Linked DNA regions of Homo sapiens: regions 1 and 2 are each linked to region 3. Evidence: promoter capture Hi-C in human tissues and cell types (Jung and others, 2019). All regions are on one chromosome and are shown on one strand. The core of a region is centred on a gene start or on the middle of the fragment in contact, and the rest is flanking DNA. Distances in the headings are between cores, read along the strand shown. Region 1 has its middle 47 kb from the start of TCERG1L. Region 2 overlaps TCERG1L (transcription elongation regulator 1 like). Region 3 holds the start of TCERG1L (transcription elongation regulator 1 like).

Region 1 (2,760 bases), core at 237-2,736, 47 kb after region 3:
CCAGCCTGTCGTCCTTGTGCCTGGGCAAGCAGCAATGCCAGGTGCATCCTCCAGCCTGTCCGAAGAGGAGGTTTTGACCAAGGAAGAGAATTTCCCCCAAAAGTAAAGACAGTAAAACATTTGGCAAGCGATCCTGTGTGCCACAAGGGGGCCCCGGGTTTGAGGATTTTCCTCATCTCTTTGTGTTCTCCATGACAGAAATTATCATTTTATACCTAGTAATAAGGTTGTTGGAGTGTGTGCACATTGGAAAATTTCGAGCAGAGAAAACAAGGGGCGCTTCTCTTAATTAAGGAAGTGAGACTCTGCCTCGTGTGAGTTGGCTCCCGCAGGCGGTGAAACTGCCTCTTGGCTAAATGGAGTCCTGGTGGCCGGGAGCTGACCACTGGGTCTGGCTGAGGACGCAGCTCCAGGCCGGGACATTGTCGCTCCCTGCTCCGGCTCTCAGGGCCTGCCTGTCTCAGCAGCTCCACCTCCTGAAGGCAGGCGATTATCTGTTCATGTGGTCCGCACGCTGACGAGATTGTCTTTTGAAGCTGAGAGGGAGAAGCACTTGGCAGAGCTCCCCGAAGCAGATAACGTCCCTTCCATTAAGTAATGATTGCACTATCAGAGCTCAGAAGCTTGTCAACATATCACAACGACAATAGCACTGTAGCATCTGCCTAAAGACAGTCCGTGGTCATCCATGGCTCCCTTGAAGGCTATGGCAGAAACGCTGTCAGGCTGGCCAGGTGCCGTGGCTCATGCCTGTAATCCCAGCAGTTTGGGAGGCTGAGGCGGGTGGATCACCTGAGGTCAGGAGTTTGAGACCAGCCTGGCCAACATTGCAAAACTCCGTCTCTACCAAAAATACAAAAAAATTACCCCAGCATGGTGGTGCGCACCTGTAATTCCAGCTACTCAGGAGGCTGAGGCAGGAGAATTGCTTGAACCTAGGGGGTAGAGGTTGCAGTGAGCTGAGATCATACCATCTCCAGACTGGTCAAAAAAGCAAAACTCTGTCTCAAAAAAAAAAACAAAAAAAAATTGGTAGGCTGAGGTGGGCAGGTGACAAAGTTAGGAGTTCAAGACCAGCTTGGCCAACAAGGTGAAACCCCATGTCTACTAAAAATACAAAAATTAGCCAGGTGTGGTGGTGGGTGCCTGTAATCCCAGCTACTCAGGAGGCTGAGGCAGAAGAAGTGCTTGAACCCGGGAGGCGGAGGTTGCAGTGAGCTGAGATCGCACCACTGCATAACAGCCTGGGTGACAGAGCAAGACTCTGTCTCGGGAAAAAAAAATGCTTTCAGGCTCAGCAGCCGCCAGCTATGTCTTGTGGCTCATGGGCACCATGGACCTGGCAGCCCACTCCCAATCTCTGAGTCCGAAGATGTGTGATGCCTGCGTGTGCACTTGCACGTCTGTCTGCACATGCATGCATTTTGTGTTTGTGCAACTGTGTATCTGTGTGTGTGTGCATGCTCATCCGTTCTAACAGGGACCCGCTGTGGGGAGATGATCTAAGTAAGCGTATTAAGGACCAGAAATAGAAGCTCCAAGCTTCTGATGACAAGGGCTATGGCTTTCCTGCCAAGATAGCTCAGATGCTGGCACATGGTGAGTCTTCAATAACGGCTGAAAGTGAATAAAATGGCGACTGTGTGGTGAGGAAACAGTTAATACAACCAGAGCAAGGTTTTTTTTTCACTGAAGACTAAATGAGGCCACCTTTTCATGTGCAACTCACCAGGTGAGAGGGAAACCCCTCCCCACACTGCTCTTCCTGCCCTCTGAGCCAACTGATATCCTGGGATAAGAACTCCATCCGCGCCACCCTCAGAGCCCCACTTAGGAAGGCGTCTGTTCGTGTCTGAGCTGACTACATTTTGAGGCAGATAGGCAGACTCGCTCTTGGAAGTGTGGCTATCTTCCAGTCTGTCACATTGCTGAAAAGTATCAAGCAGAACTATTCATGAACAATGTGAGACAGTAAAAGAGGAAACCAAAAACAACTTCAGCAGAAATGTCTGTTTAATTAAAATTAAATTCTAGTGCCTGTATAATATGTATATCCCATTTAAAACAAATCCAACATAAAATCCTGTTAATGTACATAAACAATAAATTAGTGAGTAGTCATTTGCATCATACGATTTTTCTTCTCTTTGTAAAAAAGCTTTCATTCATTTATTTGTTGCACAAACATTCCTGGGCATAAACTGAGCTTCTAACAATAATTGAGACAGACACAGCACCTGCCCTCATGGAGCCCATGCTAGAGAGAGGGAGGCAGTGAGGGGGTTCACAGAATGTGAGGCTGATGGTGTGACCAGCCAGAGCTGCATTCAAGCAACAGCAGAAGCCAAAGGAGGCAGATGGAGGAGCAGCTTGGGGGGTATGAGAGGAAAAGGGCACTTCTTGGCTCCAGCACTCAGGAAAGGATATCTATAATGCTCCAGCCAGGTGTCTCTGTCACCACAGGTGACGTTATGCTGCAGTAACAAAAATCTCCCAAACCTCAGGGCTTTAAAAACTAAGCTGAATTTCTCACTCACACAAGGACTGCCATGGGTCTGGGAGCTCCCCAAGACAAGTGTCCTCCAGGTGGAGACAGCAGCCAGGGACAAAGGCCGGACCTTCTAGAGTCTGCACAGTCTGGATGCTCAGCTTCCTGGTTGGCTAGAAGTTCTCATGCTGATAATTAAATGCTTGGCCTGCTGGTGACACATGTCAACCCTGCCCCCAACCCACTGGACTGAGGAAGTCATATAGCCCTTC
Region 2 (2,883 bases), core at 305-2,804, 33 kb before region 3:
CGGTCACTGCAGCTGCCCAGATGGACAGCCAGGAAATCTCCCGCAGGCCTGCGCCGGGGAGATAGTGGCCTGGCCTAGACATGAGCCACAAGAGAGGGCCGCTCCCCACCTCCTGGCGAGCACACTGATGCCCACAGTCATGTCCACAAACTTGGCTGCTTAATGACGTTTTTGGAACCCTCCCAGACGCAGGCACTGTCCAGCAGACGGCCCTGCCCATCTGGCTCAGGTTCTCGTCTGGGGAGCAGACCAGGGACAAGCTAACAGAAAGCTTGAGGGTGCAAAGTCAGTGTTGGAGAGGACAGTGCCCATGGCAGAAGGATAAACACAGAGGCAGGCATGGGCCTCTGAGGTCAGGTCTCAGCGCAGATCTCAAGGAAGCAGGGATGAGCCCTGAGGACATCTGGTCAAAAGGTGCCCGGAGGAGGGCACAGTGACTGCCCAGGCCCCAGGCAGAGGCCTGGAGAATGGAAAGGAGCCAGTGGCAGGTGCCTCCTGAGCCGGGAGAGCCACCGACTTGGGAGGGAAAAAGGCCAGGTGACCAGAGCAGGGGGCTCAGGGGCCATCCTGAGCTCTGGATTTCATTCCGCATGTGGGGAGCTTCAGCCACTCCCCAAAACAGGGCTCTGGAGGGAGGAAAGTCTGAGGAAACCCAGCAGGCTGTGGGAGATGGAAGCGGAGGGAGGCAGGGGCTCCCGGCTCCTGCCTCCCCCCGGGCCCACTGGCCTCAGGAACAGGAGAACTCAGATTGATCTGAGCACCGGTGGGGCTCCTTCACCTGACTCTGAAACCCCAGGCAGAGCCACGTGACCCCGGCCGAGTCGCATCCTCTCCTGGATCCTGCTCGGTTTCCTCACCTGTAAAATGGGGCAGCGATGCTTCTAGAGTTCACTGGTGAAGATGAGACGAGGCCCCCCCTCCTGTCCTCTCCCCTTGAGCTACATCGTCTTTTCTTTTTTCTTTTTTTTTTTTTTTTTGAGACAGAGTCTTGCTCCGTCACCCAGGCTAGAGTGCAATGGCCTGATCTCAGCTCACTGCAACCTCTGCCTCCCGGGTTCAAGCAATTCTCCTGCCTCCGCCTCCCAAGTAGCTGGAATTACAGGTGCCCACCACGATGCCCAGCTAATTTTTTTTTTGTATTGTTAGTAGAGACAGGGTTTCACCATGTTGGGCAGCTTGGTCTCGAACCCCTGACCTCAGGTGATCCACCCGCCTCGGCCTCCCAAAGTGCTGGGATTACAGGCATGAGCCACCGCACCCAGCCCACATCGTCTTTTCAAGACATGAGAACGATCATGTCTCTTCCCTGCCGCGGAGTCACTTCCTGCCAAGGCTGGCCTGGGGGGTGCCCTTTGCTGTTGGTGTCCTCGCCTGCCCAGGAGTCACCATCAGGCCCTTGAAGGCCCCTGCTCTCTCCCATGCTGGGGCTTTGCAAGGAGGAAGTGCTCCTCCCTCCCATGGGAGCTCTCCTGGGCTCATGGGGCCTCGGGTCCCCTGAAAGTCCTCCCTGATGACTGCTGGACCCCCACAATCCTCCTGCATGGCCTTCAACCCCACACCTCCCTCCGGGCCCTTCTGCTGCCACTGTGTGTGCCAATCACATCTGTTTGAGAAAGTCCGTCTCCCTCACAGGCCCCCAAAGCTCCAGAAGCCCGGAAACCTTGCCTGATGGGGTTCAGCTCTTTCCTTCCTGAGCCTAGTCCAGCCTCACAGCTGCGTGTGCCCCTCAGGCAGAGACAGGGCTACCTAGTTCATGGGAGCCCTAGATTAGATGAGATGACCACAGGGAAGGCCCCGATACAGTGCCTGGCACACAACTCATCAGTCATTTTCCTTTCAATTCCAAGCCGCTCTAAACATGGGTTGACTTTACGAAGGGACAGAGGAAAGGTGAGAGGGGGAGGAAGGAGGGAGGGAGGAGAGGGAAAAGGCCTGGGCAGGCAGGTGGGCAGGAGTGTAAGACGCTCAGTGCCATGCGTTGCCTGCAATTGACAGTAAGCAATGCTGCTAACCTTCATGACTGTTTAGGACAGTGGATGGGTCTTTTCCAGTGAGCCCATTCCAGGCTTCACATCATGCCCGGAGTCTCTAGGACTTAAAGCCCCAGCAGGGGCCAAAAAAATCTAGCCTCATCAAGAGCCAAGTGACAGAACCCTGGAAACAGTGACATCTGGCGAGACAAGCTCCTGTCCCACCATCCAAGGCGCCCAGATGAAGAGAAGACCATGGGCCATGCTGGCCTGCAATCCAGAAAAACAAAGGAGAGAGAAAGCTGAGAAGGATCTGGAGGAGCACAGGCCACCCAGCCGCCCGGTGAGGATGGCCACACCTCCAGCAACCCTTGACTGAGCCAGGGAAATGTCCCCTAAACATCTGTAGGGATGGGAAACGCTTCCGGGCTTTGGTGGGTGACACTCACGGATGCTGAGACACCCATAGCAAACCCTGTGAAAACCACCCATAGCTCCTCACTCTGCCTTTCGCTGCAAAGGTCCAGCTACTCTCTCGGGGGCACACCCTCCTCTCAACAGCAAATCCCACAGGAGTGACAGGTGAGAGTTTCTCCATGTGGAATGCGACCCAGCAGAGCCAGCCTACACCCTTTCGTGAGCCCCGAAAATCAGAGAGAGGTCTCAGTTAATTTAGAAAATGTATTTTGCCAAGCTTGAGGATGCATGGCTGCGACACAGCCTCAGGAGGTCCTGGTGACATGTGCCCAGGGTGGTCAGAGCAGTTTGGTTTTACACATTCTATACATTCAAAGCCAAGGTGGGAAGACTGGAAGCAGGAGGGGGCTTCCAGGTCATGGTAGATAAGAGAGGAATGGTTGCATTCTTTGAGTTCCTGATGAGCCTCTCCAAAGGAGGCAATCAGACATGCACT
Region 3 (3,122 bases), core at 80-2,579:
GCAGGAGTTTAACAACATCTTTTAGAAAAGCTCACAAGATAATATTGGAATTAAATTAATCAAATGGTGTATTCTAACATAACACCCGTTTGAATATGCTAATGAGGTCAATCCTTGGAATAAAATGCACGCTATTCCCTGATTTAAATGCATCTGCATAGTTAGCTGACAATGAATCTTGCCCAAACCAGCCCGCCTAGCTCTGCTGCACCATTTATCAAAGGTTCAGTCACTTTTTCTTTTTAATCCCATGTCTTAAAAGCCAAACTCTAGTTCTAAAGTGCAGTGTGGCATTAGCGAATGTGGTGGACTCCGGCAGGCCTGGGGCAGGGGAATCTCCGGTAACATCCCTCAGTACCGAAGGCAGGATTTCCCGGCCACTTCCGTCGGTTGGAATTCTCTTAAGCATTGCCCTGAGTCTATTTTCAAATGAAAGGGGGAAAAACCCAAACCAGATTAGAATCTGAAACAGCTGAAACAGCTATCGATTTCCAGCTTGCTTTCAAGTCTGGCAGAGACTGTGAAAGTCCTAACTTCTCCGCGATGTCAGCCACGGCCCGCGGCGGTCACGGAGCCACTTCAGCACCTCGCGATGGACAGTGACCCCCGGCGTGGCGCGAGTTCCCTGCGGTCCCCACGCGGGCCTGGGCGGCGGGTCCCTCCACGGCTCCGTCCAGACACCCGGAGGCACCTGCCAAAGCTGCGGAGGTGGACGACCGGGCGTCCAAGCACGAACTTTCTCGCCGAGGCACGGCTGCCGGGCTCCGTCCTGAGGGTTTGGGGCGGCGAGGACCGCCGGGGAGGAGGGCGCGCGAGCCGGAGGCCAGAGCCGGGCCGGGCAGGGCGCGCCCAGGAGCAGGGGAGACGGCGACCCGGGCCGAGGCGGGACGGGGACACGTTACCTGCCCGTGGAGCGCGGGGAAGGGGTGCGCGGCGGCGGCGGCGGCGGAGTCTGGCGCAGAGGGCAGCGGCAGCAGCGGGAGCACCGGCTCGCTCGGGGCCGGCCAGCCGGGGAGACCGGGGAGCAGCGGGGCCGCGGGCGGCGGGGCCGAGGCGAGCAGCACCGGGGGAACCACGACCCCCGCGCTGAGCCGGAGCAGCCCGGCCGAGCCCGGCACCATCCAGACCCAGGGCGGCGGCGGCGGCGGCTCTGCGTCCATCGGCCAGAGGAGAGGCTGCCGCCGCCGGGGCTGCTGCTGCTGCAGCTGCCGCCGCCGCCGCTGGAACCTGGCGCCCGCCTGCATCCTACATCCCCGCGCTGACGGCGGCGGCGGGGGCGGCGGGCGCCCGAGATGCTGGGCCGGCGGCGGCGCGGCTCCGGAGCGAACTCACTTGGCTCCGCGGCGCGGCCGCTCGCTCCGCCCCTGCCCCGCGCGGGAAGCTCCTCCTCCTCCCGCCCGCGCCGCCGCCGCCCCCGGACCCGGCCCCCGCCCCGGTCCCCGCCCGCCCGCGCCCCTCCCCGCCGGACCCCGCCCCGCCCTCGCGCTCCCCGGCCCTGGCCGGGGTCTCCTCCCCGCTGCGCCCCTGGACCCGGGCGGCCGCGGAGGACGTGGGTGGGAGAGGGCCGAGGGCGCGCCCGGCTGGGCTCCCGCCGATGCCGGCCCCCTGGTGGCCTCTGGCCCTCTGGGACCCAGCGCACCGCGAGGGAGGCTCCGGGCTCCGCACTCAAGGGCAAGCGGAAGCCGAGGTGGCGGCGCCGGAGCCAGGCATGTCCCGCTGCCCAGCGCGGGGCTGAGGGCGCAGACGGGGACCGCGCGAGCCGCTCTCTACCTGGCCTCCTCGGAGTCCAGGGCGCGGAGGGTACTGGGCTGCGGATCCGGCGCAGGCGGCCCCGGACGCTGCTAGGCGCGGGCGGATTTCTGTTGCACAAATGGGCCAAACAGGTTCGTAAGGCCCCCGCGGGTCCCCTGGCCCGGAAGTTGAGCCGCGGGTGCCTGGTCTGAAGTTCCGCGCCCCACAGTGGCCCGCGGGCCTCGGCGGCTCCTGCCCTACGCCCTCCAAGGCACCAGGCAGGTGGCCCCAGGGCCTTTGCCCACGACACCCCCTGGGTGGGGCAGGACCACCCCTCTGTGAATTCGTCCTGGATGCCCCCAGGCACAGTCTGTACTCCTCCCTCCCCCAGCACACGCGGCCTCTGACGCTGCACGCCGAGCTTCCTGGGACCCAGGACGAACCGGGCTCCAAGGACCCTCGCTCCGCCCGGACCACACGCAGGCAGCGCCGGCCGAGCCGAGCCTGGGTCCGCACTGGCCACGCGCAGCCACCGCCAGACGGCGCTAGCCCTCCCCCGCTGTAGACCCTGCTTCGGAGGCCGCCAGCCTCCTCCCCATCCCGGGTCCACAGCTTCAGTGCAGCCCCTGGCGACGCGCGCTGACAGCTGGGCAGAGACTTCCGTGCGCTGTAAACCCCTTAGGTCGCTAAACCCAGGAAACCCAAGCACAGCTAATGCCAGCGCGAGACCAGTGTTGTTAGAGGCATTTGAAGGGTCTTTCTGGATGCAAAAGGCAGCATTATGATCCATGCATTTAAGAACTTGCATGAAAAACCCTCCCTGACCTGGGTGGGAGAGCAGGCACCCACCCACCCAGCGGCACTGACACGCCTGGTACTCCAAACCCGTGTTCGCATCACCTCCCACCTGTCCACTGCCAACCTCCTGAGATGGCCTAAAGCACCCGAGTGCTTTTAATTTGCGTCTAGGGTTGTTTCCTCATTATCCTGATTTGCTTAATTTCCTCTTGGCCTGGCCTGATTTCTTTTAGATCTGGGCATATGCTGATTTACATAGCTGGCGCCTCCATATTTTCCTCCACGAAAACCAGTTTTCAATTAGCAAGTTTATCTCTCTCTTTGATGCAAAAGTACTGGCATTTTTTTTATTCACCTAAAATCAGAAAGCTCTGCACATTAGAAGGCTGTTACTATTCACTTACACCCTTAATTTATGTGCATATATTAGTATGTGCACATGTGTTATAAATGTGTTAGTTTAATGGTCAGAGCCAGATCAGGATATTGGGGAGGCGTCTCCAGGCAGGCTCACATGCCCCTGCCACCCCCCACCTCCCCCACCGCATAGTCCCTTTTGCACAGGAGATTCTCCTTCCTTCTGCTTGGAGGCA

Evidence for each region. The method cuts DNA at HindIII sites, captures the fragments that hold promoters and counts their contacts. A contact is called where the count stands out against the background at its distance.
Region 1: a fragment that was not itself captured here is called in contact with the fragment with the promoter of TCERG1L in region 3 in 2 of the 25 tissues and cell types used here (bladder and dorsolateral prefrontal cortex).
Region 2: a contact is called between a fragment that was not itself captured here and the fragment with the promoter of TCERG1L in region 3, in 2 of the 25 tissues and cell types used here (dorsolateral prefrontal cortex and thymus).

Annotation. Positions count from the first base shown.
Region 1 is chr10:131,357,380-131,360,139 of GRCh38, forward strand. No RefSeq gene overlaps it. Among named protein-coding and RNA genes, the nearest start is that of TCERG1L, 47 kb to the left of the region's middle. The HindIII fragment of the contact is 3,640 bases long and covers 1-2,760 here.
Region 2 is chr10:131,277,379-131,280,261 of GRCh38, forward strand. The region is part of intron 3 of TCERG1L (transcription elongation regulator 1 like); the gene reads right to left. Among named protein-coding and RNA genes, the nearest start is that of TCERG1L, 33 kb to the right of the region's middle. RefSeq lists enhancers at 1-494, 1,894-2,537, 2,538-2,883. The HindIII fragment of the contact is 5,518 bases long and covers 1-2,883 here.
Region 3 is chr10:131,310,392-131,313,513 of GRCh38, forward strand. It overlaps TCERG1L (transcription elongation regulator 1 like), which reads right to left and starts at 1,330. Exons shown (of 12, transcript NM_174937.4): 1 at 903-1,330. The coding sequence starts at 1,244. LOC101927461 (a long non-coding RNA gene) reads left to right here and starts at 1,465. Exons shown (of 3, transcript XR_242763.6): 1 at 1,465-1,883. The HindIII fragment of the contact is 8,672 bases long and covers 1-3,122 here.